Linked DNA regions of Homo sapiens: all the other regions are linked to region 1. The links are contacts of gene promoters, found by promoter capture Hi-C in blood cells and fetal thymus (Javierre and others, 2016). All regions are on one chromosome and are shown on one strand. The core of a region is centred on a gene start or on the middle of the fragment in contact, and the rest is flanking DNA. Distances in the headings are between cores, read along the strand shown. Region 1 holds the start of ZFC3H1 (zinc finger C3H1-type containing). Region 2 overlaps TMBIM4 (transmembrane BAX inhibitor motif containing 4). Region 3 overlaps TMBIM4 (transmembrane BAX inhibitor motif containing 4). Region 4 has its middle 9.9 kb from the start of HELB. Region 5 overlaps HELB (DNA helicase B). Region 6 overlaps ZDHHC17 (zDHHC palmitoyltransferase 17). Region 7 overlaps ZDHHC17 (zDHHC palmitoyltransferase 17).

The links. The method cuts DNA at HindIII sites, captures the fragments that hold promoters and counts their contacts. A CHiCAGO score of 5 or more calls a contact.
Region 2: a fragment that was not itself captured here is called in contact with the fragment with the promoter of ZFC3H1 in region 1 in 2 of 17 cell types (total CD4 T cells and activated CD4 T cells); the score reaches 7.7 in total CD4 T cells.
Region 3: a fragment that was not itself captured here is called in contact with the fragment with the promoter of ZFC3H1 in region 1 in 9 of 17 cell types (naive CD8 T cells, total CD8 T cells, total CD4 T cells and 6 more); the score reaches 28.2 in naive CD8 T cells.
Region 4: a contact is called between a fragment that was not itself captured here and the fragment with the promoter of ZFC3H1 in region 1, in 6 of 17 cell types (total CD4 T cells, naive CD8 T cells, activated CD4 T cells and 3 more). The highest score is 18.0, in total CD4 T cells.
Region 5: a contact is called between a fragment that was not itself captured here and the fragment with the promoter of ZFC3H1 in region 1, in 4 of 17 cell types (activated CD4 T cells, non-activated CD4 T cells, total CD8 T cells and 1 more). The highest score is 11.7, in activated CD4 T cells.
Region 6: a contact is called between a fragment that was not itself captured here and the fragment with the promoter of ZFC3H1 in region 1, in 2 of 17 cell types (neutrophils and total CD4 T cells). The highest score is 5.5, in neutrophils.
Region 7: a fragment that was not itself captured here is called in contact with the fragment with the promoter of ZFC3H1 in region 1 in 5 of 17 cell types (naive CD8 T cells, non-activated CD4 T cells, total CD8 T cells and 2 more); the score reaches 8.4 in naive CD8 T cells.

The regions. Positions count from the first base shown.
Region 1 is chr12:71,661,818-71,665,590 of GRCh38, reverse strand. ZFC3H1 (zinc finger C3H1-type containing) reads left to right here and starts at 1,743. Exons shown (of 35, transcript NM_144982.5): 1 at 1,743-2,578. The coding sequence starts at 1,981. THAP2 (THAP domain containing 2) reads right to left here and starts at 1,290. Exons shown (of 3, transcript NM_031435.4): 1 at 1,011-1,290. The coding sequence starts at 1,081. RefSeq lists enhancers at 1,281-1,640, 1,090-1,648, 2,001-2,120. The HindIII fragment of the contact is 1,665 bases long and covers 1,141-2,805 here.
Region 2 is chr12:66,148,569-66,152,341 of GRCh38, reverse strand. TMBIM4 (transmembrane BAX inhibitor motif containing 4) reads left to right here. Exons shown (of 7, transcript NM_016056.4): 3 at 1-71. Among named protein-coding and RNA genes, the nearest start is that of TMBIM4, 20 kb to the left of the region's middle. The HindIII fragment of the contact is 6,497 bases long and covers 1-3,773 here.
Region 3 is chr12:66,164,667-66,168,439 of GRCh38, reverse strand. The region is part of intron 1 of TMBIM4 (transmembrane BAX inhibitor motif containing 4); the gene reads left to right. Among named protein-coding and RNA genes, the nearest start is that of TMBIM4, 3.4 kb to the left of the region's middle. The HindIII fragment of the contact is 5,192 bases long and covers 1-3,773 here.
Region 4 is chr12:66,290,698-66,294,470 of GRCh38, reverse strand. It overlaps the pseudogene RN7SKP166. Among named protein-coding and RNA genes, the nearest start is that of HELB, 9.9 kb to the left of the region's middle. The HindIII fragment of the contact is 9,012 bases long and covers 1-3,773 here.
Region 5 is chr12:66,311,195-66,314,967 of GRCh38, reverse strand. HELB (DNA helicase B) reads right to left here. Exons shown (of 13, transcript NM_001370285.1): 5 at 805-982. Among named protein-coding and RNA genes, the nearest start is that of HELB, 11 kb to the right of the region's middle. The HindIII fragment of the contact is 2,362 bases long and covers 820-3,181 here.
Region 6 is chr12:76,785,632-76,789,404 of GRCh38, reverse strand. All of the region lies in intron 1 of ZDHHC17 (zDHHC palmitoyltransferase 17), which reads right to left. Among named protein-coding and RNA genes, the nearest start is that of ZDHHC17, 23 kb to the right of the region's middle. The HindIII fragment of the contact is 5,143 bases long and covers 1-3,773 here.
Region 7 is chr12:76,764,647-76,768,419 of GRCh38, reverse strand. All of the region lies in intron 1 of ZDHHC17 (zDHHC palmitoyltransferase 17), which reads right to left. Among named protein-coding and RNA genes, the nearest start is that of ZDHHC17, 2.4 kb to the right of the region's middle. RefSeq lists an enhancer at 3,299-3,773. The HindIII fragment of the contact is 401 bases long and covers 1,715-2,115 here.

The DNA of each region.
Region 1 (3,773 bases), core at 494-2,993:
CCACCATTAAATTCTAAATTCCAGGAGGGTTAGAACTTTCTGGATCCTTAGCACAATGTCAGGTAATTAGGAACTCCGTACATATTTGATGGATGAATGAACAAAGCACTACATATGCATGAACTAGTTTAAAAACAGAAACATCACAAGATTTTTTTTAAGTGGCAGCTTTTAATAAAAGTACAGTTCGTAATAGGTAGGGAAAAAGGTCAAGGATATAATTTCTACATACTAACATATACGTTGTTAGGTATATAAAATATATAAAATCAGGACTGGTGTCACTTAACTTTTTAATGTGTCTTTTCTTCGGGCACGTGGCAGGCACTTGCAGAGAAGGTAAACATTTACAGAGTACCTGTTATTTTCCAGGCATTGTTCAAAGTGCTTTCAAGAGTTCTGGTTTGACAGAACTAAAGAATTTTGATTTTTCTTCCAGCAAACAAAAGAAAACCTAGGTTCTTTTTATTACTCTATTCTAGTAAGAACAGAAAGGTTATCTTTTGCACTTTAATTAACATCGCTTAATTCCATGGCTATCAAAGATGACTCAATTCCTCCGCAGAATTACTATGTGACTATTAGAAATCTAAATGCCTCCCATGTCAATTCATCTAGTGAGAATTTCCTAATTTTAACGGGAACACAGCAGGCTTTTACGGTGATTGCTGATTGGGAAGATCTCTTTCTCCCTTACGGCGTCATTCATGTCAAGGCCCGGTCTAACAGAGGAATAAAACAGTAGAAAATTACGATATCCTCCTGTTACTTTTTTTTACTAAGGGGTAATGACCAAACAGTACTTGGATTTCTTTTAGAAAATGAGTAAAGCTTCCCCGAAAGCAGAGAACAATTGGGCAGATTTGAGAAACACAAAGGACATACGATGCTTCCCTGCTACCAGCTGGGAAAGTTATTAGAATTAGCAGAATCCTCCTGTTCCTTCCACACAAGCGATAGCCACAATAGGAACTCCAGTTTCCGTCACCCCCACTCCCTGCCCAGGTTACCTGTGGAAGCTGATGTTAATGTGCTTGTTGTAGGTAGTGGCACAGCCCGCCGCAGCGCAATTGGTCGGCATTTCCCTTTCCCACTCATTCAGCGCCCTTAGGTCTCTACTGAGGCGCTGGCTGCTAAGCTTTCTTCTGGCAGAGGCTGGACAATCGAGGCAGGCGTGCCTTAATCGTGAGAGCTTAGTCGTGAGAGCGGAGTGGGAAGAAGGGGTGTGTATGTGGGGGCGGAGGCGAAGGACGGTCAGCCTTCCCTTTCTCTTTATTAATATGGCCGACTAGAGCCCACAGAACTGGCCCTCCTGGAGCTCTAGTCGCCTTCGCTTGACTTCACCAACATGGCGGACACAACCCGTTCTTTCTCCCCGCCCCCAAGAGGGAGCGGATCTACTGCGTTTCTTTGGCAGCGGTCCTCAGAGCAATTAAAAGGAAGAGGTGTTTTCCCCTCCGATTACTATAAATTACAAGAGTTTTACAATAAAACTCTCTCAAGGCTGCAACAGCAGCTCCACCTACTTCTGCATGCACCCAACTGTACCAAGCCAGACCCTGCGGTGGGTGTGACCCTAGGACCGGAAGAGTAAACCCGAAGAAAGACGAAAGACTACAAATCCTAGTGAGTATCGAGTTGGTCTTATTATCGCGTGAACTGGGAGCCTTTGTTTCCTGCGTGTCGCAGGAAGTGACGTTTCGGGTACAGCCGCTACCAGAGTCCCTTTCTCGCGAGGCGGAAGAACCCCGATCGCTGAGGAGCAAGGGGGCGCTAGGAAAGGGAACTGGGTTGCGACGGTCCGGCGAGAGAGAGCTGGGGTGCTGGGGTGCGGGGAAGTTGGGGAGCAGAGGCCGCTTGGTGTCCGAGTAGGGTAAGACCGCACCGACCCAGTCCGTTAGGAAAGAAGGGAAACGAGGCAATTGTCGGGCGGATCCCCGGACGGAGGGCTAAGGTTGTGTGGAAGGCGCTGCTCCCCGGATGGCGACCGCAGATACTCCGGCCCCGGCCTCCAGTGGCCTCTCGCCGAAGGAAGAAGGGGAGCTTGAAGATGGGGAAATCAGTGACGACGATAATAACAGCCAGATACGGAGTCGGAGCAGCAGCAGCAGCAGCGGCGGCGGGCTGTTACCCTATCCGCGGCGAAGGCCTCCTCACTCGGCCCGGGGCGGTGGATCTGGCGGAGGCGGTGGCTCTTCCTCGTCATCGTCCTCTTCTCAGCAGCAGCTGAGGAATTTCTCACGCTCGCGGCACGCGTCTGAGCGGGGCCACCTCAGGGGACCCAGCAGCTACCGACCCAAAGAACCGTTCCGGTCTCATCCGCCTTCTGTACGGATGCCTTCGAGCTCACTGTCCGAAAGCAGTCCCCGGCCGTCTTTCTGGGAGCGGAGCCACCTCGCCTTGGACCGTTTCCGCTTTCGAGGCAGGCCTTACCGGGGTGGGAGTCGCTGGAGTCGGGGGCGAGGAGTGGGTGAGCGAGGAGGCAAGCCGGGGTGCAGACCTCCTCTGGGAGGAGGAGCAGGATCCGGGTTCAGCAGCAGTCAGAGCTGGCGAGAGCCCTCTCCACCTCGGAAGAGCTGTATCCTTAACGTGGCGGTCGGCGCTGGGTGTGTCACTAAAGTTCCCTTTAGCGTCATTACTAGGTCTGTGAGACGAGTGTAACTTTGAATCATCAGAACCGCTTATTTCTCCCTGTGTCAGTATACTTTAAGTTGTTCTTTGGTAATTCCCCATGTGTCACACTATAGCGTTATTCTTAAGACTGCTTCATTGGGTATATTAACGTGCTGTGGATTGGGTTAAGCTTATGAAATCTAAGACAGTTAAGTCTGATTTGTAATAATACCTTAGAAGCCCAAGTTTCATTAGCATTTGTATTTTTGCTGGTACAGAAACTTTGTGTTTTATATGAAGTTGACTTGGATTGTTAGAGAAAAAATATTCATAAACAGTTTAAGTAATATTGTTGCTTTATCATATTGCAGTTTGACGTTGAAAATTGTAAAGTTTTAATCTGCACAGTCCTGCACTATTTTTGTGATTCTGTTTTTATCTTGATTTATTCCGGTTGCTGCCTTTTAAAGTGGGGGGGGGAGGGGTAAAAAAAAAACAACTCTGGTGTCTTTACCAAGTCTGTTTCAGAGCTTTTTGATTCATTTGATCTTTTTGGAACACTTTACCTCCTTTACGTTTCTATCTGTGTTCACTTTTGCACATTGTGTAACTTCGTGCTGACTAAATGAGGGCCAGAGAGAGAAAGATAAACTTATCAGCATTTTTATTTTAATACGTTAGAGTGGAGGAATGTGTATGCGAGGGTGGAGATTACGGGTAAGTTGAGAAAGGAAATAGTAACATTCCAGATTTTTCCTACTTCTAACCTTATTCTCAGTTTTAAACATTACTGAGTTTACTCAGCATTTATACAGAGGAATCAATCATCCGAAGGTTTCCTGTTTTATAATGGGTTTGTAAAACACTATCTTGACTTAATCTGTGATCATTGCAAAAATTGTTTAAAGACTTTCATTACTGGTTGTAATTCACATAGTGTGATGATTTTTAATTTCGTTATTATATATGAAACTTAAAAGTAATGACAGTTATTTGGAAGACAATCAGAATTACTTTTATAGAACACTTAGGTCCAGAATAGGTCTTTCTCAAATGTCATGATGTAAAAGGGGCAAGGAATGTACATTTAGGTGAGAAACAGCAGCTTCTGATGCTAGTTCCCTGAAAAACCTTACTTCTGCAACCAAAAGTTGGGTTAG
Region 2 (3,773 bases), core at 736-3,235, 5.5 Mb after region 1:
TGGGTTTGATTTTTGCGTTGATTTTAAACAGACATAAGTATCCCCTTAACCTGTACCTACTTTTTGGATTTGTGAGTACTCTGACTTTCTCTATTCCCTTAACAATTATTCCTGAGTTTTAAATAAATGCATATATAATACATATATAACAACGGCAGAACAAAATTAATGAGTTTTTTTTAGAGTACTTTAGGAAATTAATTGTAATTTTATAGTCTTTTAAAACTTTTAACAGTTTATTAGTTTCAAATATTAGTATGTAGTGGAAAAAATGCTGAATTGGAATAGATGACCTGGCTTTGCTGCTATCTGATTATGTGACACTTGGCAAGGCATTTATCCTTTCTGTGTCTAAGTTTTTTCATATGTAAAATGAGAATTTTAAAGTAGATAAATCCTTGTGATACCTTCTACCTCTAATATTCTATTATTTTCTTTGGAGAAAATTATGTTGTGGCTTTAATTTCATAAAATTCAAATTCTTTATTGTTAACTCTTCTTTGTTATTATCTTATCACTCTGATCTTTTAAAGAACCATTTTGCTCAAATTATGTGCATTAGTAACTTTTTTCAAAATTATAGTTGGGAGAACCCAACTTTAAGTCATGTATGTTGAGATATTTGTGAAAATTAAAACCCAAACTACCACTTATGAAAATTCAGTTTAGAATATGACCAGAATAAGGGGATAAGCCTCAAGTTATCTGTCTAAAAAATTATTTTGCCTCTTCTCATCCAGTATGACTAGATTCTAACCTAAAAATTTACTTCAGAACATTCCAAAGTAATATTAAGAATACTTGGGTGGGTGCAGTGGCTCATGCCTGTAATCCCAGCACTCTGGAAGGCTGACGTGGGCAGATTGCTGGAGTCCGAGAGTCTGAGACCAGCCTGGGCAACATAGTGAGACCCCACCTCTACAAAAAAATACAGAAATTAGCTGGGCATGGTGGTGTGCACCTATAGTCCCAGCTACTTGGGAGGCTGAGGTGGGAGGATCACTGTAACGGGGTTGCGGGGTGGAGGCTGCAGTGAGCTGAGATCACGTGACTAAACTCCAGCCTGAGTGACAGAGTGAGACCCCATCTCAGACAAACAAAAAAAGAATACTTGTAGTCAAATACGAGTGGGAAAAGCTATTGATTAGATTAAAATGCTTTAAACTAAAAAGTTTATGAATTCTGATAATGAGTTTGTGTTAAAATGAAAAGCTGATGACTTTGAAAGTTTCAGTAATAGGAAAGATTATTCATTTAAATCTTAAGCTCTTTTGTTTGCAAGATTGTCAATTCTAACTCAAGTTATTGCAAATAACAAGGAGTTTAAGGATGTAAGAGCTTGAGAACCCACCAACCCAAATCCTCTTCAAGAAGATGAACTGGAGAACTGGAGGAAGATTCCAGAAATGATGATATCATAGGAAATTCAGTGACAAATGTTTGTGTTCCCCTCTCCCTTGTTCTATTACATCTCTTCTCTACCTCAGTTGTCCTTATACATTGTTTTCCCTTTTTCTATCTTTAATTTTTATATGACCCATTGTTTGCCCCCAGAGTCATTTAACTTTAGCTCCCACTGCCATTGCTTCAATCTCTGAGTTCAGATTCCTGAGTCAGAAAGAATCTGGTCCAGGCGTGGTGGCTCACGCCTGTGTGATCCCCGCACTTTGGGAGGCCGGGGCAGGCATGTTGCTTGAGTTCAGGAGTTCGAGACCAGCCCGGGCAACATAGTGAGACCTTGTCTCTGCAAAAAATACAAAAATTAGCCAGATGTTATGGCACGTGCTTGTAGTCCCACTACTTGGGAGGCTGAGGCAGGAGGATCACTTAAACCGGGAGGTGGAGGTTGCAGTGAGCTGAGATTGCGCCACTGCCCTCCAGCCTCAGTGACAGAGTGAGACCCTGTCTTAAAAAGAAAGGGGGGTGGGAGGGAGGAAGAAAGGAAAAGGAAGGAAGGAAGGAAGAAAGGAGAGAGAAAGAATCTGATTGGTACACTTGGTTGTTGGCACAGGTCACATTGTAGGCTGTTAGTCAATATATGGGTTGCCAGGCCTTGGGTAAGAGCCAACTCCTGGCCTAGTCAGCTATGTCTCAGGAAAGAGGAAGTATAAAAAAAAAGACGGCCATATAGAATTCCTCTTCGCATCTACATGTAGCCTCCTCTCAGAAAGACTGATTTCTGTGTGGGAAGAGGGTGTGGTTCAACTTTTGCCCAGCAGGGAGAGGTCCCACTAGAAAAGTATCAACCAAATGCTTATAGGCAAGATAATCACTGATTGTTAAATCTATTCATCATGCCCATAGCTAAAAATGGTTTAACAAATAAGTATGTACAATACATTTCCTTAAATTACTCAGGGACCTTTAACGTTAGGAGTTTTTTGGTCCTGATCCACCAAGATAAGAAAGGAGGTGAATCTTATCTTGCCCTAGTAGGAGTGTGTGTGTGTGTGTATGCATGCACATAGACAGACAGACAGATAGATAGATAGTCCTCAACTTAGAATCATTCACCTTAATGTTTTCCACTTTTATGATGGTGTCAAAGCAATATGCAACCACGAAATTTCAGACTTTAAGCATTGGTGATTCTTTAACCAAAGACACTCTGAGCTACATTTTTTACTTACGATATTTTCAACTTACAGTGGGGTGTATTGGCATGTAACCCCATTGTAACTCGAGGAGCATGTGTGTATATGTTTTAAAGGGACATTATCATGTTTTCCTAGTCTTATCTTAACTCTTATTTATACCATCCTGTTTCCTTAGATACTTGAATGTGTATGGGATTTCTTTCCTAAAATCTTGTCATAAATAGCAAGAATATAGTATAATCATGTTGCCCTGCCCCCCCCAAAAAAATTTCTTTCTTTCTTTTTTTTTTTTTTTTTTTTGAGACAGGGTCTCTCTCTGTCACCCAGGCTGGAGTGCAGTGGCACGAACTTGGCTCACTGCAACCTCTGCCTCCTGGGCTTAAGCGATCCTCCCACCTCCCAGCCTCCCAAGTAGCTGGGACTACAGGCGCATGTCACCATCCTTGGCTAATTTTTTTGTGTTTTTCGTAGAGAGGGGGTTTTGCTGTGTCACCCAGGCTGGTCTCAAACTCCTGGACTCAAGCAATCCACCTGCCTCGGCCTCCCAGAGTACTGGGATTACACGTCTGAGCCACCATGCCCAGCCCAGAAAAAAATTTCTATCATCTTTTGCTACCATTTTTGCTGGCACTACTAAAAGCATTAAAATGTGACAGCAGTTCCATTGCCTCCACATCTATGTACAATTTCTAATACCATTTTTGCTCTGGTGCTGATGGTTTCCTGATATCAGGTAGGGTGGAGTACAGGGATGCTTCTACCAGGAGTGTGATTATACAGCCACTGCCTTTATTTCTGGCTTTGCCTTTGTGATATGGTCTATCAGATGATTGATAAAATCTATCTAGAGTAAGGATATAAGACAAAATAAAGATACTGTAATTAAGGGGAAAGGGAGGCTAGAGGACATGGCTCAGTATCCCCAAGTCTTTTATTTAGGATATGGGTTCAGCTACTTCTGACTTGACTTAAACAGTGACAAAATAACAATGGCTTAAACAAGATAGTTTATTTCTCTTCATGTAAAAATTTGAATGACAATTTAGTGAAGGTGACAAGGGCCCACGCTTCTGCTAAGGTCCAGGCATTCCTAGAGTGGTATATGATAGATCATATGGTATAAGATAGATCACTTCCATAGCCACAGAGTATCCAGTTATTAATACAAACAAATGA
Region 3 (3,773 bases), core at 491-2,990, 5.5 Mb after region 1:
TTTAATCTTGCAAAACTGAAACTCTATACCTATTAACTCCCCATTCCTTCCTTCCCCCAGTCCCTGGAACCACCATTTCACTTTCTCTCTCTGTGAATTTGGCTACTCTAGATACAATCAGTATTTGTTTTTTTGTGGTTGGCTTTTTTCAATTAGCATAATGTCTTCAAATACATCCATGTTGTGGCATATGTCAGAATTTCCTTTTTTTTTTTTTTTGAGACAGGGTCTCGCTTTGCCACCGAGGCTGGAGTGCAGTGGTGAGATCACTGCTCACTGCAGCCTCTACCTTCTGGGCTCAGGTGATCCTCCCGCCTCAGCCTCTCGAGTAGTTGGGATTACAAATGCAGGTCACCAGGCCTGGCTAATTTTTTTGTACTTTTGGTAGAGACGGGTTTCTCCATGTTGCCCCATCCGATCTTGAACTCCTGGACTCAAGCGATCCTCCCACCTCAGCCTCCCAAAGTCCTGGGATTACAGGCATGAGCCACTGCACCTGGCTGCAGAATTTCCTTTTTAAGACAGTAGTAGTACTTTGTATGTATATACCAAATTTTGTTTATTCATCCATTGATGGACATTTGTGTTGCTTCTACCTCTTGACTACTTTGAATAGTGCTGTCATGAATATAGGTGTGCACATACCTCTTCAAGACCGTGCTTTAATTCTTTTGAATATATACCCAGAAGTGGAATTGCTGGATTGTGTGGTAGTTCTATTTTTAATTATTTAAGGAACGGCCATACTGTTTTTGATAGGGGCTACATCATTTTACATTCTCAGCAACAGTGCACAAGGGTTCACCTTTTTCTACATCCTTGCCAACACATTCCGTTCTTTTCTTTCTTTTTAAAATGAAAATAGCCATCAAATGAGTGTGAGGTGGTATGTCCTTTTGGTTTTGATTTGCATTTCTCTAATGATTTAATGATGTTGCACATTTTAAAAGTATGCGTGTGGGGCATTTATACATTTTCCTTGGAGAAATGTTATTCAAGTCCTTTGCCCAATTAATTTTTTAAAAGCAATTTTAGGTTCATAGCAAAATTTAGCAGAAAGAACAGAGTTCTTATATACCCTTTCTGCTTTTCCCCAAGCCTCTTGCACTAATAACGTTCTGTACCAGAGTGGTATGTTTGTTACAATCAGTGAACCTAGACTGGACACCTCATTATCACCCAAGACCAAGGTTTACGTTAAGGTTCGCTCTTAGTGTTGTATATTCTATGAGTTTGACAAATGTTTAATGACATGTATCCACCATGATAGTATCATACAGAATAGTTTCACTGCCTTCCTCTGTGCTCTGCCTGTTCATCCCTCCCTTCCTGCTGATCTTCTATTGTCTCCATAGTTTTGTCTTTTCCCAAATGCTGTATAGTTGGAATTATCATGTAACCTTTCAAATTGGCCTTTTTCACTTATAATATGCGTTTAAGGTTTTCTACATGTCTTTGCATGGCTTGATAGCTCATTTTTCTTTAGTGCTGAATACTATTCCATTGTTTGGATGCATTACAGTTTATTCATTCACCTACTGAAGGAAATCTTGCCTGCTTCCAAGTTTTGTCAATAAAGCTGCTTTGTAAACATCCATGTGCAGGTTTTTGTGTGGACATAAGTTTTCAACTCATTTGGGTAAATACCAAGCAGCACAATTGCCGTGTTGTATAGTAAGAGAATGTTTAGTTTCATAAGACATCACCAAGCTGTCTTACAAAGTGGCTGTACTATTTTGCACTTCCACCAGCAATGAATGAGAGTTCTTGTTGGTTCCACATACTCGTCAGCATTTGATGATATCAGTGTTTTAGATTTTGACCATTTAATAGGTGTGTAGTGGCATCTCCTTGTTGCTTTAACTTGTAATTCTCTAATGACTTATAATGTTGAGCATCTTTTCATATACTTATTTGCCATTTGTGTTTCTTCTTCCTTTTTCTTTTTCTTTTTCTTTTTTTTTTTTTTTTTTTTGAGACAAAGTATCACTCTGTCTCTCAGACTGGAGTGCAGTGGTACAGTCACAACTCACTGCAGCCTCAATGTCCCAGGCTCAAGTGATCCTCCCATCTCGGCCTCCTGAGTAGCTGGAACTACAGGCACATGCCACCATGCCTAGCTAATTTTTTATATTTTTAGAAGAGACAGGTTTCGTCATGTTAGTCAGGCTGGTCTCAAACTCGTGGGCTCAAGTGATCCACCCACCTTGGCCTCCGAAAGTGCCGGGATTACAGGCATAAGCCACTGTGCCCAGCCAATCAAATGAGAAAAGGGCAGTCTCTTCAACAAATGGTGTTGGGAAAATTGAATATCCACATTCAAAAGAATGAAATTAGATGCTTACCTTAAACTGTATACAAAAATTACCTCAAAAAAGATCGAAGTCCTAAATGTAAGACCTAAAACTATAAAACTCTTAGATAAAAACATAGGAGGACATTGGATTTGGCAATGGATTTCTTGGGCGTGACACCAAAAACAGGCAACAGAAGTAAAAATAGATGGATGACATCAAAATTTAAAACTTCTGTGTATCAAAGAACACATTCAACAGAGTGAAAAGGCCCATAAAATGGGTGAAAATATTTGCAAATGATATATCCTGTAAGAGGCTAATATCCAGAATACATAAGGAAATCCTACCATTCAATAACAAAAAACAACCTGATTTTAAAGTGAAGAAGTCAAGAAAATAAGATAGACTACATACTGGGAGAAAATATTTGCAAAAGATATATCTAATAAAGGACTGTTATCCAAAATATACAAAAGAACTCTAAACGATAAGAAGACAAATAGCCTGAATAAAATACAGCAAAAGACTTGAACACATACCCCACTAAAGAAGATTCACAAGGTTGGGTGCAGTGGTTCACGCCTGTAATCCTAACACTTTTGGAGGCCAAGGTGGGAGAATCACTTGAGCCTGGGAGGTCGAGGCTGCAGCAAGCTGTGATTGTGCCACTGCACTCCAGCCTAGGCAACAGAGGGAGACCGTGTCTGAAAAAAAAAAAAAAAAGGATCATATATACCAGGATTTATTATTGGAGCTCTGTTGTATTCCATTGGTCTGTATGTCTCTGTCTTTATGTTAGTACCACACTGTTTTGATTACTGTGGCTTTGTAATAAGTTTTGAAATCAGGAATGTGAGATCTCCAACTTTGTTGTTTTTTTTAGATATTGTTTTGGCAATTTGGGGTCCCCTGACATTCCATATACATTTTAGAATGGATTTTCTATTTCTGTGAAAGATGCCATTGGGATTTTGATAGGGATTGCATTAAATCTACCCAAAGTAGGTTACTTTGGGTAGTATGAACATCGGTTTTCCAATGTATAATGATGGATGTGTTTCCATTTATTTTTGTCTTTAATTTCTTTCATCAGTGTTTTGTAGTTTTCAAATTTGTCTTCTTGGTTAGGTTTATTCCTAAGCATTTTATTCCTTTTGATGCTGTTGTAAATGGAATTGTTTTCTTAACTTTCTTTCCAACCTTCTCATTGTTAGTGTATAAAAATGTAACTAATTTTGCATTTTAATTTTGTATCTTGAATCTTTGCTGAATTCATTTATTCTAACAGTTTATGGAATCTTTAGGGTTTTCTACATGTAAGGTCATGTTTGTGAACAGAGATAATTTTACTCCTTTCTTTCCAATATGGATGCCTTTTATTTCTTTTTCTTGCCCAATTGTTCTGGCGAGGACTTCCTGTACTATGTTGAATAGAAATGGCAAAAGCAAACGTCCTTGTCTTATTCCTGATCTTAG
Region 4 (3,773 bases), core at 537-3,036, 5.4 Mb after region 1:
TGGCCAGGTGCAGTGGTTCATGCCTGTAATCCCAGCTACTAAGGAGGCTGTGGCAGGAGAATCACTTGGAGGTGGAGGTTGCAGTGAGCTGAGATCGTGCCACTGCACTCCTATCTGGGTGACAGAGTGACACTCCATCTCAAAAAATAAAAATAAAAACAAAAGAACTGCCTCCCAATGAGCACGGTGGCTCACACTAGTAATTCCAGAGTTGTGGGAGGCCGAGGTGGGAGGATTGCTTGAGGCCAGCAGTTTGAGACCAGCCTAAGCAACAAAGAGAGACCCCATCACCACACACACACACACACACACACACACACACACACACACAATAATAAGCTGGGCATGGCGGTGCAAACCTATAGTCCCAGCTACTTTGGAGGCTGAGGCAACAGGATCGTTTGGGGACAGAAGTTCAAGGCTTCAGTGAGCTACGATTGTGCCATTGCACTCCAGCCCGGGTGACATAGTGAGACCCTAACCCAAAAAATAAATGAAAGAAAAGAAAAGAAAAGAAAAGAAAAAGGAAAAAGAAAAAGAAAAAGAATTGCTTTCCTAAATACATTTTCTGGAAGCTCCTTTCCTAACAAACATGCCATGGTTGAGGTGAGCACTAAAACAAAAATGCATCAACTCTGCTACCACAGAGAGATGGAGCTGGGGATCAGTTTCTAGCTGATCATGTTGGTCTTTGTTAGGCATTTTATGAAAACTATTTATCTCATCCTATATGATAAGTATAACTTTTTAAAAAGCAAACATTTGCAAAGTATTACTAAGAAGTAGATGACTACAATTCATTTATTCAGTCAATACATATTTTAGGATAGTTACTGTTCTGGGTACTGGAGAATAACAGTAAACAAAACAGACCAAGTCCTTGTACATCCTAAGAAGGAGCAAGGATCCATCCTAAGAAGGAGCAAGGATCCATCCTAAGAAGGAGCCAGGGAGCAAGTAAAAGTAATATCAAATGATGATGAGAACCAGAAGCAAAGATAAAAGAGAGAAAGGGGATAGAGAGTGCTATGGTTTGAATATTTGTCTCTTGCAAAATTCATGTTGAGGGCCAGGCGGCATGGCTCACGCTTGTAATCCCAGCACTTTGAGAGGCTGAGATGGGCAGATCACTTGAGATCAGGAGTTCCAGATCAGCCTGGCCAACATGGTGAAACCCCATCTCTACTAAAAATACAAAAAGTTAGCCAGGCGTGGTGGCACACACCTATAATCCCAGCTATGGAGAGGCTGAAGCTCGAGAATTGCTTGAACCCAGGAGGCGGAAGTTGCAGTGAGGCAAGATAGCGCCACTGCACTCTAGCGTGGGTGACAGAACAACACTCTATCTCAAGAAAAAAAAAATTCATGTTGAAACTTAATCCCCAATGTGGCAGCACTGAGAGGTGAGGAGGGTCATGAGGTATATTCATTTCATATCATTTAAGAGGTGATTGGGTCATGAGGTATCTTCCCTCGTGAATAGATTAATCCACTCATGGATTAATGGGTCAATGGATTAATGGGTTATCATGGGAGTGGGACTGGTGGACCTTGAGAGCTTGTTTGGAGGTTCTAGCAGGGGAGCGCAGTTGCCCGTATACCCTTGACCGAAGACCAGTCCTCTTCTATCAGGGATGGTAATCCTCTTTCACCGAGCACAGCTTTGGGAGGGACACACATGGAGTGGTGAGGGAGGAAGGGGACAACCGCCTAGCTGGCCAGATCAGCCAAGTCAACTCGGGCTATCAATGGGGTGGCAGATGTCACAGACAGATCACCCTCACATCCAGGACTGGTAGCTTTATGAGAAGAAGAGAGACCTGAACTAACATGTTCAGTCCCCTCACCATGTGATGCCGCCTGTTGCTCCACCAGCAAGAAGGCTTTCACCAGATATGTTCTCTCTACCTCAGACTTTCCAGCCTCCATAACTCTAAGTTATAAACAAATTCCTTTTCTTTATAAATTATCCAGTTTTAAGTATTCTGTTACAAGCAGCAAAAAATGAACTAACACAGAGCATGACTGTAGTGAGGTTTTGCTATTTCAGATAGAATGATGGATTGAAACCAAGGTAGAGATATTAAAAATTGACAATGAGATATTGTGTTGTATGGGCTATGGAATGAATTATTGAATAGAAGGAATGCAAATCAGGGAACATGTGAAAAGTGCTATGCTTATGCAATCTATAATCATCAATAGATGAAGACTGACTTTCTGGAATAGAAATATATTTGAGCATTCCACAGAGTCACTCTTGTTGCAAAAGATAAACTACATTCAGATCAGCAGGTCTGTTTTCCTGATTTATTTTAAATGGCTGGAAATTTCCTCCATTTGTGACAAGATTTCATATACAACATCCACTTCTGGCCAAGAAGGGAGAAAATCATCCTGCATTGGAGAAAAGTGAGATATGAAGAACTAGGTTGGAATAATGATGAGCAAAAAGGGAAAGAATGACTGAAAGGGAGACAGGAAGGAGAATGTGGAAAGATAATGTGATGAAGATATGGACAGCAGATGCAGGGGAGTTTCAAAAGAGTTGGAAAATTCTCCTTTAAAAAACAAAGCCATAATGCAGTAATAACTCGTGTTACACAATGCAGAATTCATTAAAGAATGCAAAATCTCTGAGATTTTATTTTTGATGTAAGAAAACATAGGCTGTGAGTGGTGGCTCATGCTGTAATCCCAGCACTTTGGGAGGCCAAGGCGGGTGGATCACCTGAGGTTAGGAGTCTGAGACCAGCCTGGCCAACATGGTGAAACCCATTCTCTACTAAAAATACAAAAAATTAGCCGGGCGTGGTGGCAGGCACCTATAATCCCAGCTGCTCGGGAGGCTGAGGCAGGAGAATTGTTTGAATCTGGGAGGCTGACGTTGCAGTTAGCGGAGATGGTGCCACTGCACTCCAGCCTACGTGACAGAGCAAGACTCTGTTTTTGTTTTTGTTTTTTTTCTGAAAACAAACAAACAAAAAAACCCCAGAATTTGGAGAGTACAAAGACAATGCTTTCACACTCAGAAAACAGAACAATTTTATATATTTAACTTCCTCCCTTAATTATAAACAACAACAATTATAATGGCTAATACTGAGTGTTTACATTGTGCTTTCCACACATCACAAAGTCCTCTCCTTCAATTAACTCATTTACTCTTCACAAAAGCCTCATGAAATAGTTAACATTAAAGCATCTATCTTACTTATGAGGAAACTTCTGCTGAGAGGTTAGATAACTTGCTTAAAGTTGGGAGTGGCTGAACCATGACTTGAACCTAAGAAGTCAGGCTCCAGTGACCGTGCTCTTTGCTGCTACATGTTCAGGCACAGCTCTGTGTTCTAAATATCTCTGCATGCACCCAGGAACCAACCTGGGGCTGTGAGGAGGCATACACTGCAGCATAGTATCAATCTCCTTGATTTGTTGCCTCTCTTTTGTTTGAGATTTGTAAAACAGATACACACTTCTCTGGGACCTTAGGGTAAAACCACAACAGTTGCAAAGTTACCACAACCTCTTGTCATCTCTAAGTGACAAATAACTTGAATTGCAAGGTTACTTGTTTTTTACACTGCTGCTGGATGAGCCTGTAAGAACTCTGTACACAGGGGTCTAAGATAAATAGCACATTGATATGGCTTGGCGGTGTCCCCACCCAAATCTCATCTTGAATTGCAGCACCTGTAATTCCCACATGTCTTGGGAGGAACCTGGTGGGAGGCAACTGAATCATGGGAGTGGGTCTTTTCTGTGCTGTTCTC
Region 5 (3,773 bases), core at 751-3,250, 5.4 Mb after region 1:
CCTTTTTCAATCATGTTCAATGTCTTACTGAAAGTGGAAGAATCTACAGCCTCAAATAGATAAAATAAGTGTACAAAATATAAAACAAATAAATAAATGCATTTGATAACAGATACGTTCCAGTAATCTAATAGTGATGTTCTGCTCTATTAAAAATATTTTTTGCATGCAACAAATAAGCCCTAAATATAAGAAAAACATGTACTGGGGGAAGCAGAGAGAAGGCTTAAGCCATTAATACAATCAACTGCTTAAAAGACATCCTCAAATACCTAAAAAAATAATAATTTTTATATACAACTTGATTCTCCAATTGTGATTTTATTTTTTTCTCCATTAAATCATATGGTCTACAGAGCATGACTACCCAAGAGAATCTAACTGAATCTTATCAGAATTGGAAGGACTTAAGAGGCTGGTGAGGTCTGATTTATTAGCTTAGCATTATGAAATTACTTTTAAGTGGCCTATAATTCAAACTTTTTATCATTTCCAAATGATTCACATCCTGATTTACTCTGAATCTGTGGCACTTTTACTATTTTAATAGCCATCATTTAGGTGATTAGCAGTAGCCCTTAACAACCCTATTTCATTCACATCCCAGCCAGCTAATATCCTGGCCAAAACAAAACAACCCAAGCTGATTAGGAGAGTGGTCAGATTTAATTTCATGTAGCTTTGGTATCTTCGTGTAGCTTTGGTATCAATTCTGGTGTAAACAACCAACTAAATGGTGTAAACAACCAACTAACCACAATACTTTGAAATAAACATCAGAATTCCAACAATATTTTAACTTACCAAGGATAATAAGCTTAGAAAGTTTGGAGTGCTCACACAATAAATTTAAGACCGATTTGAAGATTCCTACAGATACCAAACTCCCTTCATCCACAACCAGAACTCTAACCGAAGAAAATTTCCATGGTTTGTTTGTGGTCATCATTGTTTGAGTCCATGAATAGAAGCTATAATTGACCTACAAGCAAAGTATGGCATTCCTAAAGTCAGGTTATAAAATCTACAAAACCAAAAATTAATAGCAAGTTATTTTGGGGCAAAACTCGTAAATTGGCAGGGGTGGGTGGGAAGTAAAGAAACACAAAAGTTATAGGGTTGAATATGCAGAACAGACAGACCAAATAAATCTAAAAACAAACAAACAAAAAATCAGATTGTTCCAAAATCTCAACACTTCCCTCATCGTTCTTAAACACAGAAAGCTCCCTATTCTTTTCCATTCCCAAATAAACCTTCTCGTGGCCATCTGAGATATGCCACTGAAGCTCTTCCCTTCTCCCAACCATAGTACTCCATTCTGGAATAAAAGCAGCGCTTTCTCAACCGAATTATGAAAATACTACTTTTTCTTTCAAGTACTCCAAACTTCCTCACCTCAAAACTTTTTAAAAACTACCACCGCACCACCCCCAACAACAAATAAACAACAAAATTCTTTATTACAAATGTAATACTATTTATTATTTTTTAATATAGATGAGAAAAAAATTGGTTGTAAAATTACAACCAGAGAACATTCAATATTTTAGTGTATATCATCCCAAAAATGTTTCTATGTCATCAGTATGAACATTTATAGGTTGAGTATCCCTAATCTGCAAATTCAAAATCCAAAATCCTTAACTTTTTGAGCACTGACATAACACTCAAAGGAAACACTCACTGGAGCATTTCAGATTTTCAATCTGTGTTATGTACAGATTTTCTAAATGGTATCATATCACATCTTCATCTAATTTTTCTACTAAAACTAGATTCAACTGTCTATTAAGTAAAGCCTTCATATTTCCTACCCAAATGCATCAATTCCCTTCAACAAAACCCCCTATGCTCACAGTAGCCATGTCTCACAACATTCGGAATTAGCCATTTCTTTTCTCTTATTTGATATATTCAATTTATTATCTTAGAAATGCTGACATTTTCCACTGTATTTCTAGTGCTACCAGCTCAATACAGGTTCCATCTATCAGCAACTTGATGACTCCAATAGCTTTGCAGCCAGGTTCCCCCACACACAATCCCAGGATGGGATTGCCCCATAAAATACAGGACATCCAGTTAAATTTGAACTTCAAATACACAATAAATGACTTTAGTATAAGCAAGTCAATGAATTATTTGATACAAACTTATACTAAAAAATTATTCATATTTTTATCTGATAAATCTGGCAACCCTAGTCCAAGGATGATAAATGGCACTCCAGTGCTCTTTCCGTGCTCTTGCACTCTCTCCTGAGCCTAAACATAGCTTCAGAAATATTCTCTCACTCAGCATCCCAAGCAGATATTAAGATACTACCAACTAATCAGAGCTGACACATCAGATAAAACTTGGTAATGATCCCTTTCGGGTGTCCCCTTCTAATTCAATCCTTCAGATTAATCAGACATGAAGGCATAGTACAAAAAAAAGATCATAAACTGATCAGAAAACTCTTCCACTGATAAACTACACTGAACATCTCTAGGTCTCCATTCATTCATGTGATAAATAAAGGTAACAGGCAAGATATGATAAGTGGCTCATGGCTCTATGACTCTATATGATCTTCCTTAAAACTTCTTTCACTCTCTTGCTTAGGAACCTAAATGGCTCCCTAAGAGATCAAGTTCGAGTTTCATTGTTAGTGTACAGCATCTGTAATAAATGAGGAAATAATGACACCATGGAAAGAACAACAAGCTGGAAGGCCAGAAATCTCCATTTCAAGTCCCAGTTCTACACCTAACTGAGATCTTAGGCAAAATGTTTAACATCCCCACACTTCAACTGGCGTTTCTGTAAATGTGGAGATAACATCACTTTATCAAGGATGTAATGAGATAAGTCAAAATACTTTACTAACTTTAAAGCTCGAATTCACTGTCTAACCCAAGTTTAATTTCCACTATTCTGTCAGACACAGGCTTCATTCCAGTCAATGAAGTCACCTCAAAATCCTCCAGGCACACTACGATCATATTCCTCGATGCCTTTGCAAAGGCCTTTCCCCTAAGTCCAATGTCCTTCTCCTCACCTGAGTCTCCATGTTCCTTGGAGTCCAATTCAATGATTACCTTCTTCAGAAATCTTCCAACTACCATGTTTCTTTATCTAAAAAATGGCAGGTCAGGGCTAGGGCTAGAGGAACCTCTCCAACTCTTTACAAGCTTAAACTCCATGATTCTTAATTATAGCCAATACTATTTTTTTCAAGAATGTTAATTTATTTGAAATTTTTATTATGTAACTACTATTTGTCTGGCACTGTTCTAGGTGGAAGAAATAAAGACTTATTCCAGATGAGCAAAGTCCTCACTTTCATCCTACAAAATATAGGCCTTTTACTTCCATTTCCAATGTTACTCAAAATGTGGTCTATGGACTGTGACATGTTTGTAACCAGCCCCCATGAGAAACAGATATTGTACCAGGATCTAAACTAACTATATCATTACGCCTACACTCTAGTGGGACTGAATTTTTGCTGTTGTTTTTAGACAAGGTCTTACTTTGTCACCCAGGCTGGAGTGCAGTGGTCTAAACACGGCTCACTGCAGCTTCGACCTCACAGCCTCAAACAATCCTCTCACCTCTGCCTCCTGAGTAGCTGGAACTACAGGTGCATGCCACCATGCCCACCTAATTTTTTAATTGTTTGTAGAGATGGGGGTCTCACTATGTTGCCCAGGCAAGTCTCAAACTCCTGAGCTCAAGTGATCCTCCCACCTTGGCCTCCCAAAGTGCTGGGATTACAGACAGGA
Region 6 (3,773 bases), core at 578-3,077, 5.1 Mb before region 1:
CTTCTCTGTCTTCCCCTAACATTCTCTTCACCATTAGACTTTAAGCTATGACAGGGTGGGAATCCTATCTTAATCATTTGTGTATGTCCAGTGCTTAGGACAGAGCCTAGCACAAATAATACTGGTCTCCTTAAATGAAATGAAAGAATAAATGGATGGATTCTTCCTCACTACTGAAAAATATTTTCTTTAACTCATTTAATATTTCTTCATTTTAACTGGGGTAAACTCCTAGAGACGGATTCTTAAAGAGTATGAATATTTTTATGGTTCTTGACATGGTATCTAAATTGTTTTGCAAAAGAATTATAATCCAAACAGCAATACATGATTAACTATTTCTCCATAAACTCACTGGCACTGGGTGTTATTTTTAAATTCTCCACTATTTAAAGAGTAAGAAAGACTTGCTGGGCACGGTGGCTCATGCCTATAATCCCAGCACTTTGGGAGGCCAAGGCAGGCGGATCACCTGAGGTCGGGAGCTTGAGACCAGCCTGACCAACATGGAGAAAACCCCGTCTCTACTAAAAATACAAAATTAGCTGGGCGTGGTGGTGCATGTCTGTAATCCCAGCCACTCGACAGGCTGAGGCAGGAGAATCGCTTGAACCCGGGAGGCAGAGGTTGCAGTGAACAGAGATCATGCCACTGCACTCCAGCCTGGACAACAAGAGCGAAACTCTGCTCAAAAAAAAAAAAAAAAAAAAAAAAAATTGCGATTCCAACTTAAATATATTTTCCTATCCTAGTTCATCTTTTGGGAATTACCTGTTCATATCTTTTGGTCATTTTATTGTACTTGACTCCTGAAATCTGCTTAATATATTTGTATTACACTTTTATATATAGATTAATCTTTTTCATACTGATCTAAAGACTTCCATGTTTAGAACTGTTCATTTATGCTTTCAATATAATTCAGAGATTATACCCTTTATAGTCACATGTATTAATCTTTTCCTTGTGCTTTTTTGGTTTTCATTTTTATATTTCAATACTGCTACAATTATTAGTGCTATTCATGAAATATTTTCAGTTCTCTTCTCAGGTACAAAGTTGAACTGTACACCCTTGGCCCTTTGAAAGATAAGTGTGTCCAAGTGATTGACCATGTGATCTTAACCAATGGAATATGAATAAAAAGGATCTGTTGCTTTCAGAGAACAAGTTTAAGAGCCAACATGCAATTCCCCAGTCTCTCTTTCCATCTGCCAAGGAGACTGGCAATCTTCTAGAGAGTAGAGATAATCACTGGATAGAAAACCTACTATCCCACCCACAATGTATGTGTAGCATAACTACTAACATTTTTTTAAGGGACAGGGTCTCACTATGTTGCCCAGGCTAGAGTACAGTGGCTATGCACAGACGTGATCATCACCACTACAGCCTGGAACTCCTGGGCTCAAGCAATCCTCCTGTCTCAGCCTCCTGAGTAGTTGGTAGTACAGGTGCACACAACCACACTCAGCTAAGCCACTGAAATTTAGGGTTGTTACTGCAGCAAAACATAGCTTATCCGGACTAATATGATTCTGAGAGTTGTTTAGTTTGGTAAGTAGTGTGTAAATGGATCTATATAAATCATTTTCATTGTATTTTGGAGCTGGTTATAACTAGTATATGGTTTTACTACTAATGTTCACAGATTTATCTTATATCCAGCCACAATGTTAAAATATCATCTCTGATTTTAGATACCTTTGAATACTGTAAGAATACCATCAACTCTCCTGCGCGCGCACACACACACAAGAGACAGAGAGAGAGAGAGAGAGAGAGAGGGAGAGACAGAGTGTGTGTTTTCACTCTATGGCCGATGGCATTGGCAAAAACATCAAATGCAATATTGGAAAAGTAAAATGAGAATACTTCCTTATTTCCTATTATTTTTCCTCCATTTTTTAATAGTCAATGTATTTAGTGTTTCTTCATCATAAAGCTGTTCAATCATCCTTATTCAAATATATTCCAGGGAATGCATAACACTGTATATGGATAAAAATGCCCACTTGATTGGGCATAAAAATGCCAACAGGCTGTTACATTATAGAATATGGCCAATTTAATATTTCATTGGAGATTCTCGATTTCATCCTGTAAAGATTATGACCAGTATTATTTTTATGTATCTCCTAGTTGATGATAATATTATGAAAGTGACCTTCACTCTTCCCCTTGACCTCCCTTCTCTACCACAGGCCAACTGTTCTTATCAGCAGCCCACACTCAAGTCGTGGTGACATTTCCATTAGGGCCCAAAAAACTAGGGCAGACATAAAACGACTCTGGAAAATTTCAAGGAAGAAGTACCTTCAAGTATTTTAAGTTGTTTTATTTTGGTTTTTTAAATGTTTGCATCAAGTGCACATGTAAATTATCTAAATGTAATTACCAAAATGTAATTTGAATGGCAAAGATACGTAACTGAAAATCCTAAGAAGTATTGTAAACTATCTCTTAGGAGAAGTGCAAAAACCCCATCTTCGACTGAGAATAAGTAAAGACATTTAGGCATCTAGTTCAGCAGGCAACGGAGATCAATCAGGGAGTTTTGAGGAAGGAAGTAACAGAATTAGATATGCAATTTTAGAAGATCATCTAAAGATTTTTTTTTCCTTTCCACCATCCCCAAAATTTATACTTCCACCTTTCCTGTGCTATTTACTAGAAGGCATTTCTAACTATCAAAATGTCCAAGCTAGAAAAATTCAGCTGGGTGCAGTGGTGCATACCTATAATCCCCACAACTCATGAGGCTGATGGGGAAGGACCACATGCGGCCAGGAGTTTGAGACCAGCCTGAGGAACATAGTGAGACTGTCTCTAAAAATAAAAATTAAAAAGGCCAGGCACAGTGACTCATGCCTGTAATCCCAGCACTTTGGGAGGCCGAGGCGGGTGGACTGCTTGAGTTCAGGAGTTCAAGACCAGTGTGACCAACATGGTAAAACCCCATCTCTACTAAAATACAAAAATTAGCCAGGCATGGTGGCAGGTGCCTGCCATCCCAGCTACTCAGGGGGCTGAGGCAGGAGATTCACTTCAACCCAGATCGTGCCACTGCACTACAGCCTGGACGACAGAGCAAGACTCTGTCTCAAAAATAAATAAAAATAAAAATAAAAAAAATTAGCCAGGCTTAATGGCACACACCTGTAATCCCAGCAACTCAGGAGGTTGTGGTGGGAGGATCACTTGAGCCTACAGTAAACTGTGATCACACCACTGCACTCCTGGGCAACAGAGCAAGATCCCATCTCTTTAAAAAAAAAAAAAGAAAGAAAGAAAAGAAAGAAAAAGAAAACTAATTCCCCCTTGATTCTTTATCCCACAGCTTCAAATATTCACCAAGTCGCAATGCTTCTTTTCTCAAAATAAATCCGTCCCTTCCTCTGTATTAATATTATCACAAATGGTCTACCCATATTACTGTCCCTATCACTCCCTTACTTAAAATCCTTAAAATCATACATATAAGGGTAAAGAGAGGACATTTCGGCAATCATACAAAATCCTTCATGAAGTGGTCCCAGTTTGCTTTTTCCAGCTTTAGTATCCACCATTCCCTTCTACACATCCTACACATTTACGTACACCAGCCATTCCAAGAAGTCATGTACTTTTAAAAACCTCAGTATCTTTGTGCTCATGTTAGCTATTCTACTTAGAAGACACATCCCATCTCAGGCTCAGGCAAACCTTTAGAAATCACAATTCAATTCACAATTCAAGAGTCACCATAGCCTTCCCTGTCCCAGGCAATTAAA
Region 7 (3,773 bases), core at 666-3,165, 5.1 Mb before region 1:
GTTGATTATATTGAAAAATCACAATTTAAAACCAGAACACTTGAGTCTGAAGAAATCTTAGAGGTCATCTAGTCTAGCTACTTTATCTTAAAAGCAACAAAACTGAGACCAGTTAAATACCTACTAGCTCAAGGTCACTGAGCTAGAACTAGTACCCTAATCCCTTGATCATCAGTTCTTCTTTATCCAAAGAGCCTTTAATTTCTTTCATTTCAATAAAACAAATAATCACCTATTTCAAAAGAAAACAAAGTAACAGCAGCTTCCCTTTCAGTATTCACTATATGCCAGGGCCTTCAGAAGGTACAATTTGCTTGGCAGCCTATGTGCCTAGGTCTATGAAAACTGCTTTATAAACATTAGCCTAGTTAATATTCACAATAACTGTAAAAGGTGTCACTATTAACCCAACTTTACAAATGAGAAAAATGTACTTTGACCATGATAACAGTAAGCTGCAGAAGCTACATTTTCAGTTTGTCACCACAGCTTTGGATTTTTTTTTTTTTTAAGAGAGTTTTGCTCTTGTTGCCCAGGCTGGAGTGCAATCTCGGCTCACTGCAACCTCCACCTCCCGGGTTCAAGCAATTCTCCTGCCTCAGCCTCCTGAGGAGCTGGGATTATAGGCATGTGCCACCACGCATGGCTAATTTTGTATTTTTAATAGAGACAAGGTTTCTCCATGTTGGTCAGGTTGGTCTTGAACTCCGAACCTCAGGTGATCCGCCCGCCTCGGCCTCCCTAAACCCTGGGATTACAGGCGTGAGCCACCACGCCCAGCCAACTTTGGCTCTTAACCAGTATTCTACACTGCCTCTCACTGAACACCAAAAATATCCTGAAGTCTCACACAGACTCCAGCACAATTCCTTACCCAAACATGACAAACAAATGTTTAAATGACCAACTAAATGAGTGGATGATTTAATTCATTAAAAAGTAAGATTATCTTACCTAAAATACCTCTAAAAAGGCGTTTATCTAATTGTATAATCCTCTAAGAAAGGTTTTAACAGTGGGCAGTTTGCATACTAATAAGAGATTTAAGCAATGCTCATTTCTTTACCCACAAATAATTCATCTGCTTAACAAATACTAAAGTGAAAAACTGTTTTTGTGTGAGAGTATTAAATTGGAAGATAAAAAGTGAAATGAAATTTGTTCCTGCAAGATCCTATTCCACTAAATTAAAACCCACATAAGTTTTAAATCAGTCACCAAAACCAAAATAAATGTGTAACACTTCCCTTTCTTCTGGTAGAGAAAAAAGAAGTAACATTAACTGAGCACCTACAATGTGCCAGTTCTTGACCCTCAACATATAGCCTCACTTAATCCCTTACAGCCAAGTAAACTAGGCAGCATCTCCATTTTCTTTTCTTTTCTTTTTTTTTTTTTTTTGAGACATAATCTTGCTCTGTCACCCAGGATGGAGTACAGCTGCTCGATCATGGCTCACTGCAGCCTCAACCTTCCAGGCTCAAGCAATCCTCCCACCTCAGCATCCGATTAGCTGGGACTACAGGCGTGTACCACCATGCTCAGCTAATTTTTGTATTTTCTGTAGACACAGAGTTTTGCCATGTTGCCCAGGATGGTCTCGAACTCCTGGGCTCAAGTGATTCTCTCACCTCGGCTTCCCAAAGTGCTGGGACTACAGGTGTGAGCCTCCGAGCCCAGCCAGGATCTCCATTTTCTGATTACAACTGAAGCTTAAAGAAATTAAGCACTTGTCTCAGGTCACTTAGCTAGTTACCGAATTTCCAGAATTAGAATCCAAGTCTGTCTGACCCAAAGTCTATGTTCTCTCCAAAAAGAGGTTAAAAGTACTATTATTTCATTACTTACCAAGACAGAGAATGGGTTTCTTCCCAAAGGAGACTGAAAACACTGCTTATTTTAACAACAAAAACATATTATCTCAGTTAATCCTCGCTATAGCTTATTAACTATTATTTTTATCCATTATAAATGATGAAACTAGAACTCAGAGACGTATTCATAGCTTGCCCAAGAACACACTGCTAGGAGGCAGCAGAACTACCCCAGGTCTGCACCAGCTGCACACACTAACCACAGAAAATGCAGAAAGACCTCAGCCATGTAGTACAAGCTTAAGGTCCATCCAAAGTATTAAAATAATCAGACCTTGTGCTTCTTGGGTAAAAAGGAACGGTATATATTATGTATGCCAATTCCCACTATCAATGATGAGGAGGTTGACTTTCTAGTAATATCCTATCTATCGAATGGCAACCTGAAGATCGGTAGCTAAATTTCAAGCCTATACTGGCCATTCTACTACACCAAATAATCTGGATTTGTTGCCAGTTAAAATTATTCTTAAAGTAGCAAACAACAGTACTATATTACAAAGCAAAGGTTTATGAAGAACAGTATGCTAAAATACGTAAGATAGGCCTGGCATGGTGGCTCATGCCTGTAATCCCAGCACTTTAAGTAGCTAAGGTGAGAGGACCACTTGAGTTCAAGAGTTCAAGACCAGCCTAGACAACATAGGGAGACCTCTTCTTCTACAAATAATAAAAAAATCAGCCGGGTATGGTGGCGCGAGCCTGTGGTCACAGCTACTCAGGAGGCTGAGGGGAGAGGATCACTTGAGCCCTGGAGGTAGAGGCTGCAGTGAGCTGTCATCGTGTCAGTGCACTCCTGCCTGGGGGACAGGGAGAAACCCCGTCTCAAAAAAATAAACTGGATAAACACTTAAGTGTTTGAAATACTTTCACGAATACTTTCACAGGAACAGATGAATAGAAATCACTTAGCAACATTTTCAAGGCAACATCTGAAAACTACTTTGTCTATTTCCTGACGTATGTTAGGGCCTAAGTGAACCAAAAGAGATGTCTACAATGCCAGTTCTGAAAATGTTACCACTTTGGTCAGACAAGTGTTTAGTCTTACTGTATAGTTCTGTTTATCAGAAACCCAGAGTAGCCTTTTCTACTGAGACTGGCACAGGTATATATTCCGAAGGAACTGTCCCATGTGTTTTTGATAAACCAAAGTGACGAATGAGAGGGTGGTTGAGTGTTAACATGCAACATAAAAGGATGGTTGTCATTATTCACTTTTTAACAAAAACTAGTGGCATGGTACAAACCCAAATCCAGAAAAAAACAGAATCACTCCATTGCAAAGTAACCAGGTAGAGACTTCCATGTTTGTTCATCCTACAACACGACTGTCATCTTTTAACCTCATGAAAACTACCCGAGTTCTTCAGCAAACTGTGCCGCTGCCGCATACAGACATCACTGTGGATCACTAAAAATCAGAATGCATCAAGAATTGCTTCCAAGCCTTAACTAGCACTAGCTCAGCTACAAACTCGGAGGTAAACAAGCACAGACTGACTGACTGTGGAGCGGGGCACTGTTTACTTACATGGGAAGACACTCATGTTGTGATGGGAAACGTGTTGCACTGTCCACCCCTAGCTCCTAGAAAAACGGTACTTTGACAAGCTAATGTGAGTGTAAGTCTATTCCCAAAAGTTTTTACCTCTCTTCTTAATCGCTTAAGGACAAATGCTCAAAAAAGGACGCCCGACACAAGGTGCCCGAGGTGCTACCCATGGCATTACCTGGAAGGACATCACTATGCCCATGAAACTGTCCCCTCACAGTGGACTAAAAGGAAGCAATAGATACCGTCATTCACCCTGGCGAAGGAAAAAGAAATCAAAACCAGACGCGCTTCCACCTGGCCCCAAGAGGCTTGGAGCAAGACTAGGGTCTAAGCTGCGGTTC